2 separate regions of the Homo sapiens genome follow, and region 1 is linked to region 2. The links are contacts of gene promoters, found by promoter capture Hi-C in human tissues and cell types (Jung and others, 2019). All regions are on one chromosome and are shown on one strand. Each heading gives the region's core, a stretch centred on a gene start or on the middle of the fragment in contact. The rest is flanking DNA. Distances are from core to core; before and after follow the strand shown.

The links. The method cuts DNA at HindIII sites, captures the fragments that hold promoters and counts their contacts. A contact is called where the count stands out against the background at its distance.
Region 1: a contact is called between the fragment with the promoter of ASB1 here and a fragment that was not itself captured in region 2, in 1 of the 25 tissues and cell types used here (lymphoblastoid cells).

What each region holds. Positions count from the first base shown.
Region 1 is chr2:238,425,179-238,428,873 of GRCh38, forward strand. It overlaps ASB1 (ankyrin repeat and SOCS box containing 1), which reads left to right and starts at 1,749. Exons shown (of 5, transcript NM_001040445.3): 1 at 1,749-1,941. The coding sequence starts at 1,893. It overlaps LOC124908002 (a long non-coding RNA gene), which reads right to left and starts at 1,716. Exons shown (of 2, transcript XR_007088163.1): 1 at 1-1,716. RefSeq lists enhancers at 330-865, 2,378-2,497 and silencers at 1,198-1,587, 1,608-2,127. The HindIII fragment of the contact is 10,702 bases long and covers 1-3,695 here.
Region 2 is chr2:237,695,942-237,700,129 of GRCh38, forward strand. All of the region lies in intron 1 of LRRFIP1 (LRR binding FLII interacting protein 1), which reads left to right. Among named protein-coding and RNA genes, the nearest start is that of LRRFIP1, 70 kb to the left of the region's middle. RefSeq lists an enhancer at 1,143-1,352 and a silencer at 2,416-2,465. The HindIII fragment of the contact is 4,703 bases long and covers 1-3,668 here.

The DNA.
Region 1 (3,695 bases), core at 499-2,998, 730 kb after region 2:
TGCAAAGGCTACCGACACGCAGAACGCTCACTGTGAGCCCACCGGGACCAGGCAGGCAGAGCAGCGGAGGCCCCCGGAGACGTGGCTCTCACCAGGCTGCACTTTAGAATCACCTGGGTGCTCTGAACCACCCAACACCCAACCCGCACCCCTGACTGACTGCACCGGAACCTCTTTTAAAAAATTCTTTAAAACAATTGTGGTAAAATATATAGAACATAAAACTTAACCTGCTTTAAATGCGCAGTTCAGTACTGTTAATGCACAATTCACATTGCTGTGTGACCCGTCTCCAAAACTTTTTCATCTTCCTCAACTGAAGCTCTGTCCCCATGAAAAACTAACTCCTCATTCCCCACTCCCCCAGCCCTTGGCAACCCCCATTCCGCTCCACCATTTCACTGCTCCAGGGACCTCAAATAATTGGAATCACACAGTACTGTATTTGTCTTTTTGTGGCTGGCTTATCTCACTCAGCATAACGTCTTCAAGGTCATCCGTGTTGTGACGTGTGTCAGGATTCCCTTCCTTTCTAAGGCTGAGTACGAATCCATTGTATGGACGGACAGCATTTCCTTTCTAAGGCTGAGTACGATTCCATTGTATGGATGGACGGCATTTCGTTTATCCATTCATCCATCCAACAACACGTGAGGCGGCTTCAGGCTTCGGAGTTGCTGAAGCTCCGAGTTCGGGATGTGCAGCTGTGGTGGAGCCAGGGGCTGGGCACACCCCTGGCTCCTGGCCTGGCAGCGTCATCATCGGAGTCACCTGTCCCTCATGCCAGTGGTGCTCTCTGCTGTCATCAAGACCAAACACCACTGTAGGAAGTACCCCCACTCCCGCCTCCAACCCCCACAGGGCCTGCCAGGTCTGCCCCCAGTGGGCCCCCTGGTGCATCTGGGCCACCCAGGGCCAGCCTCAGCAGGGGCACTCGCGGGGCTGCGCCTGCGGCTTCCCTTACTCCAGTCTGGAATGTTGTACACACGGATGAGCCAGCAGCTCACGCCCACGACTGCTGGGGTCTCCGGACTCCCTCATCAGCCTCCTGCTGTGCTGTGTACAAATCCTCCTCCTGCATGAGGCCCCGCTGTCTAACTCAGCAGGGGAGAATGGGAGGAGCCAAGGGAATCCGTGCTTTAGGACCAACACCAATACTCATGGTGGGACGACGCTGCGATATTTGAAGTTGGGAGTGTGCAAGAAATGTTACTCGGTTGTTCACGAATGCATTCATTTATTCAATGAACTTCGCGTCAGCCACTGGCTGTCATCAGTTACCGACCTGATTGAGGGCTTCATGGAAGGGATTTGGAGGAGCATTCATCTAAAACCACAGCACGCTGCGACGCTCAGCCCTGCAGTGGGCCCTCACCAGTCCCCGCGCCTCCGAATCCACCCTCCCGGGGCTGCTCGTGGCTAGCGGGGGGCACCTGCGGGGACCAAGCCAGCCCGGCCGAGGCCCGGGTCCCGCCCGCCACGGCCCTCGGGGCCCCGCCCACATCTGGCAGAAGCCACGCCCCGTCCGTGTGGGTGGGGACGGCCCGCCGGACCGAAATTCCCAGACTGCTGCCTCAGGCAACGGGCTTTCCGACTCCTTGGCTTCTTATGTGAGGAAACCACAGCGCGGCCGGCATCCAGAGAGTCGGTTAGCCGCGAAGTTCCCGCCGGACGAAGGGACCAGCCAGCGCCCTGCTAGACAGCGAGGCCGGAAGCGGAGGCGTGGCCCCTGCGCGGCCCCGGAAACCAGTGAGGCCGGCGCGCGCCCGCCGGAAGCCGCGACCCCGACGCGCCCCCCATTGCCCTCGGCGCCGGAAGTGGTCGCGGGTCGTTCTGCTTCCTGCCCGAGGGGCGTGCGCGGGTCAGGGGCGGCCGCGGAGGCGGAAGCATCCATGGCGGAGGGCGGCAGCCCAGACGGGCGGGCAGGGCCGGGCTCCGCAGGTAACGTGCGCGCGGCCACTGGGCCGCGGGGCGTGTGGGGATGGCGAAGGGCTGGCTCCGGCGTCCCTGCCGAGGTCCTGCGTCCTCGTCCCGGGCTGGCCGGGTCCACGGGGCAGCCAGGGAGCCGCACCCTGCAGGCCGGGGGTGGGGTTCAGCGCGGCTCGCAGTGCTGGGCGACCCCACCACGGACGCGCTGCCCTCTCCTCGGCCTCGAGTGCAGTCCCCGCGCTAGATTTTCTTTCCGGTGGAACTTGCTCGTAACTTCCTTCCCGTTAGCCGATACAGATTTGATATGACCCAACCGCAAAAGTAGGACGTGGGCCACCTTCCAGCTCTGAGCGCACGGATCAGGAAAGCCAGCCAGAGGGTAGCCCTAGGGAGGGCAGGCACTTTTTCACCATTCTGCCGCCCACGGCGTGTCCGGTGGTACAGCGGGGGGCAGCCTTCCCACCCACCACAGGCACAGACCAGGGACAACGGGGACGCCGTCTCCAGCGAGCTCGTCAGTGACACAACATGTCCAGGGGCCTTTGGCCCACCAGCAAGGGAGGCAGATAGAAAGGCTCACACCCACCTTCCAAAATAACTGTCCTACTTAGGGTCTCCACCTTGCAGTGTCCCTACCATGCAGATGTGAAGGAAGCGGTCAGGACAGGTTCCCGTTTCCCGGTGGTGTGGTGGGAGTTCCTTCTTGCTGGATTTCTGAGCTTGCCATTCGCGCCAATAGTTTCGTGTGTTCTGGGCTTTCTTTACATGCCTATATTTGTCTTTGGAGGGGTTCCTCTCCTACTTAGTAATAAACCAATACATTTCTTAAACATCTTAAAAGATTGACTTGGAGACTGGTGCAGATAGGCTTTTCCATCCATCCCTCCCTCTGCACCTCCTTCCAATCATTTAACAGACTTGTATTGAAGACCTGCTGTTGGCTAGACCCAGCAGAGGATACTGCAGTGACCAGAAAAAGCCAGACAAAGCATCTACCATCCTGGGCTTTGGTTGGCGTTGACTTTGACTTCAGAGACAGCCAGGACCTTAGGGTCTAGGATGTCATCTCATGTGAGAGTGAGAGACGGAATGATGCGTGTTCCGTGGGAAAAAGAGGACCAACAGCTACTTCCCAGTATAAAGAGAGTTCCTGGGGAATAAACACTGGCTTTGTCGGCTGCACAGGTCTCCTTTTTTTTTGAGACGGAGTTTCGCTCTTGTTGCCCAGGGTGGAGTGCAGTGGCGTGATCTCGGCCCACTGCAGCCTCCGCCTCGGGGGTTCAAGCGATGCTCTGGCCTCAGCCTCCCTAGTAGCTGGGATTACAGGTGCTGGCATCATGCCCGGCTAATTTTTGTATTTTAGTAGAGACGGGGCTTCACCATATTGGCATATTGGCCAGGCTGATAGCGAACTCTAGACCTCAGGTGATCTGCCCGCCTCTGCCTCCCAAAGTGCTGGGATTACAGGCGGCAGCCACCACACTCAGCTGAGGGCTCCTTTTTATATCCTCATGCACTGCTGTTTTGTTATTCAGTGTGTTTCGGCCTCGGGTAGAGGGGCAACAGATTTTCAGTTGAAGCTTAAGTGCTATCCTGGGGCAGTTGTGTTGTCATTGGAGTAGTTGATCAGCGAAACACAAACTTGAAGTTGCTTTTGAATCTGGAGCTGGGGAAAGATTCTGAGTCTACTTTGAGCAGGGCCAGGAATGGATAGCACAGAGGCCAGCAGAGGGGGCCCAGAAGAGGGCTCAGCAAAAGTCCTGTGG
Region 2 (4,188 bases), core at 67-2,566:
CCCCCTGCCCCAGGCCAGATTCCAAAACAATAAACCAAAACACACACACACCTGGCAACAGAAATTATATGTATTCCGAGACTCATTCATTCATTTTGGAAAGGGCCAGTGTTTCCAGTGGTTTCTCCTTGGGATTGTAACTTTACAACTTTAAAACTAGGTAAGTAGTTTTCCCTTGAATCTAAAGTATAACTACTTTGTAGTAGAGAAGTAATTTATCTTAAATCACTATAATGAAGATTTACTCTTAATTTTAACCAAAATGTTTCATTTATTTGTGTAATGAAGATGATCAAAGCAACGCCACCTGTGATCCTTCTGTCTTTTTTACTGTATGTGGCACGTGGCTGTGTGATTTTCCTAGGGAAAGGAGTGGGCTTTCCCTGTGGGTTGAGAACCTCTGTCCCCCTCCTCTGAAGTTTCCCCAGTTTTTCCTGCTTCTCTGCTAGGTGGGTGCCTTAGCATGCTTGTCTTCTCATCGTGCTTCTAAACTTCTCTGAACCGGATTTATACTCTTAGGTCAGTAGCTGTCAAAGAAGACACTAAGTAGTGAAAGTAGCTAATATTTACCAAACCCCTGCTGCGCCCACCTGGTGTTTTATGTGAAGGTCTTCTCTAACCCTTGCTGTAACCTCATGGGGAGCAGATCGTTTTCTCTCAGTTTTTCAGATAAAGAGGAAACTGAGGCTCAGAAAGGTCAGGGACTTTCCAAGCCCTCACAGCTAGTCAGCAGTGGAGCCAGTTCAGACCCAGGCCTGCTGACTCGGAACTGGTACTGATAACTGTCACCACTGTATGCAATGCTGCAGGCAGGGGCTGGCAGGTAGTAAATGTGCAAGATATAGCTGTGGCTGCCACGGCTGCTGCTGCTGCTTTTGTCGCTGTTGTCAGCTTTTCTTGGCAGCCCTGCTGTCTCATACCCCAGTATTGGGGCTGAAGGATTTCTTTTTACCAAAGCTGCCTCTTAGGACAGAAGTCCTTGTCTTGAATGCATACTGGGAAGTCTTCACTCTGTCAAACTTTTCTGTTCTCTGCCTGGTAATTTCCAGACAGAAGAGAACATTCAAAGAACGAACTTACTTTCCTTCTTTTTTTTTATTGAGACAGTCGTGCTTGATTGCCCAGGCTGGAATGCAATGGCACAATCTCAGCTCACTGCAACCTCCGTTTCCCAGGTGCAACCGATTCTCCTGCCTCAGACCTCTGAAGCAGCTGGGACTACAGGTGCCTGCCACCTCACCCGGCTAATTTTTGTATTTTTAGTAGAGATGGGGTTTCACCACATTGGCCGGGGTGGTCTCAAACTCCTGACCTCAAGTGATCCTCCCATCTCGGCCTCCCAAAGTGCTGGGATTACAGGCATGAGCCACCACACCCGGCCCAATGAGCTTTACTTTTCTACATAAGGAAAATAATGGTAGAAATGAAATAGCTGTGAAACTTGTTTTGCTATTTTTGTACCATGCTAAAATGTTAACTACTGCTTATGTCGGCATACACCTGAGAGCTGCTGTGATTTAAGCCTTTTTATTTTTCTGGGTATGATGTAACTCCTCCCCTACCTCATCCAAGTAGATAAGTTCATGGAGGATAAACATGACAGCTGCTGTTTCTTTTATAGCTGGTTCCAGGGAATATCCACTGAATATAGGAAAGATTGTCAGTTGCTGTGTGCTGCCCTGGTGCTGGTGGAGCTTTCAGCCTTCTTCTCAGAGGAAACAATTTAAATGTTTTTGTGAAACCCTAGAGGTCTGGGGTTTGTAGGACAGTCTTGAGCAGAGCAGGCAAAGGTGAAGGGAGTGGAGCCCAGACGTGCTGCCTGGAGGGAAACCTGTCACCTGGAGAGGAAACGGCACAGGGGAGGCCCAGCCGCCCTCGCCTCTCAGTCCCGCACGTCTCTGTTAGTGGTAGTCATGGTTCTTGTATTTCCATCATGTTGAGGCAATTGAAGGAAATATGAAGATTCATTCATCTCAGGAAAAGCAAGAAATGTATTAACAGCAAGAGTAGAAGTTCACTTGCATGGAAGATACTGTATAGCGTATTTATTTCTTAGCGCCAGTGGGAGTAGCTGCTAAGCCCAAGATTGTGTTGTGAGGTTTGAATAGGTCAATGTGTGAGTCATCAATAAAGTAACATCAATCATTTTGTTCCCGATTAATACGTTTGCTATTTTAGGATGCGAAGGACTTTAAAGAAGCTTATTATTCTGAAAAGCAAAGCCTGGAGATTTCCAGTAGCAAAACAGACACAGTCTGTGGACAATCTCAGTGTACAAATAATTCACCTCTGGCATGAACCCAAAGAATTTCAGAGGGGAAGGAAGCTCTTAAAGATTACGTCCCCTCCTACTTCTTTAATGAGGGCTGGGGTTCAAAAACCGAGTAACTTATCCAGGCTCACATAACTGTAGGTGACAGAGCCCAAGCTGGAGGCTGTGGCTGGGTCTTCAGACTCCTTTCTTGACAGTCTGCACCTGCATAAACTCAGACCTTTACTGAGAACAGTGCAGCCATAGCTGAGAGAAGCAGTCGGCACCCAGCATTTCTTGGACTTGTCTGCCAGGTCCCCCGAGTGCAGAGGACAGTGTGCTGGCTCCTGGGGCCTGTGGGCCCGGCCAGGAGCAGCCTTGTAAGCTAAAGCCTTCTTTGAAGGTGGCCGTCTTACCGTAAACTTTCATGGTAATTTCAGTCTACTCCATAATTTGTCTGAGTTAATTTTGATGGAAACATAGTGTTTTAAGTAATCAGTTAGGCTTTGATCTCTAACTTTATGCCATCCAAATCTTCATGATGGCCTGAGCACCAGGCACCCAGACCTGTGCTCTGAATTGTGCCGGGGCTGGTTCATACAGTGTGATGGAGAGACGAGAGATCCACACTGGAGTTCTGAAGCTGTGGTTCTCAACCCTGTCTTTTTACAAGTTCCTTAACTTCCTTACTAGCCTGAAATGAAATGCATAGGTGAGAAAGTCAACCAGCGCACATAATTTCGAGTCAATATAACATTTCCTTAAAAAATAAAATACAGGTAGTTTATAGTAACATAATAAGAATTTTGATATAGAAATACTCAAGACCAAGTACACCAGCAGTTGAATGCAGTGATGAGACCTGCACACACCTGTGCCTGGCGTCACAGGGAGGCTGACACAGGTGTGTTGCACTGAGACCCACACACCACCCCTCATGTTGCTGTCTATGACGTGACATTCTACAAAGTTGACTAACTCTCAGGAAAGTTCTGAACAAAGCCAAGTATCATCATCTTCCTTCAATTTCCATGTCGATTGCATTCCTGGAATAGTTCATGTATATTTGAACTGTGTAAAACATATTTTGAGTTTATATGTAAGTTGCAATCAGTTTGTAAATCCAAAAATTAAAAATAGTGGTTTTTCTTTTCTTTTTTTTTTTTTTCTTTTTTTTTGAGATGGAATTTCGCTCTGTCGCCCAGGCTGGAGTGCAATGGTGAGATCTCGGCTCACTACAACCTCCGCCTCCCGGGTTCAAGTGATTCTCCTGCCTCAGCCTCCTGAGTAGCTGGGATTATAGGCATGCGCCACCATGCCCGGCTAATTTTGTATTTTTAGTAGAGATGGGATTTCACTATGTTGGTCAGACTGGTCTTGAACTCCTGACCTCAGATGATCCGCCTGCCTCGGCCTCCCAAAGTGCTGGGATTACAGGCGTGAGCCACCGCACCCGGCCAAAACAGTGGTTTTTCTATCTTCCTGAGCAGTCAAGGGAAAAGTTCTTCCCATCGCAGGCGTGTCTGAATGCGGGATGGTTGGCCGACCTGGCCCTGCCCCCCCGCCCCAATACCCTTAGCTTCTTCCCAATCTTTTTGACATCCCAGTCCCCCCAACATTTCCAAAATGCCCTCTAAGTCAACACTTCCGCCACTGCCAGCTGCCACCCCAGAGTGCCCTGTGCCTGGTAACGATCGTTCTCACAGTCATGGCCGTAGGGAAGGCTCTTTGTGGTTCCTGGGGGACTTCGTGAGATTGCCCACATGAGCATTTCTTTTGGAACTGAGATACAGTGCACATCGCCTCTGGGGGACATGGGGTGGTGGGTACACGGAACCGAGGTGAGCCTCCCTTGCGTTGCGGAGGTGCTAGCCTTGTGCCGTCCGTTCTTGTCCACGTCTGTGCAGGAGAACATCACCCGGCCCACTTGGTTGCTG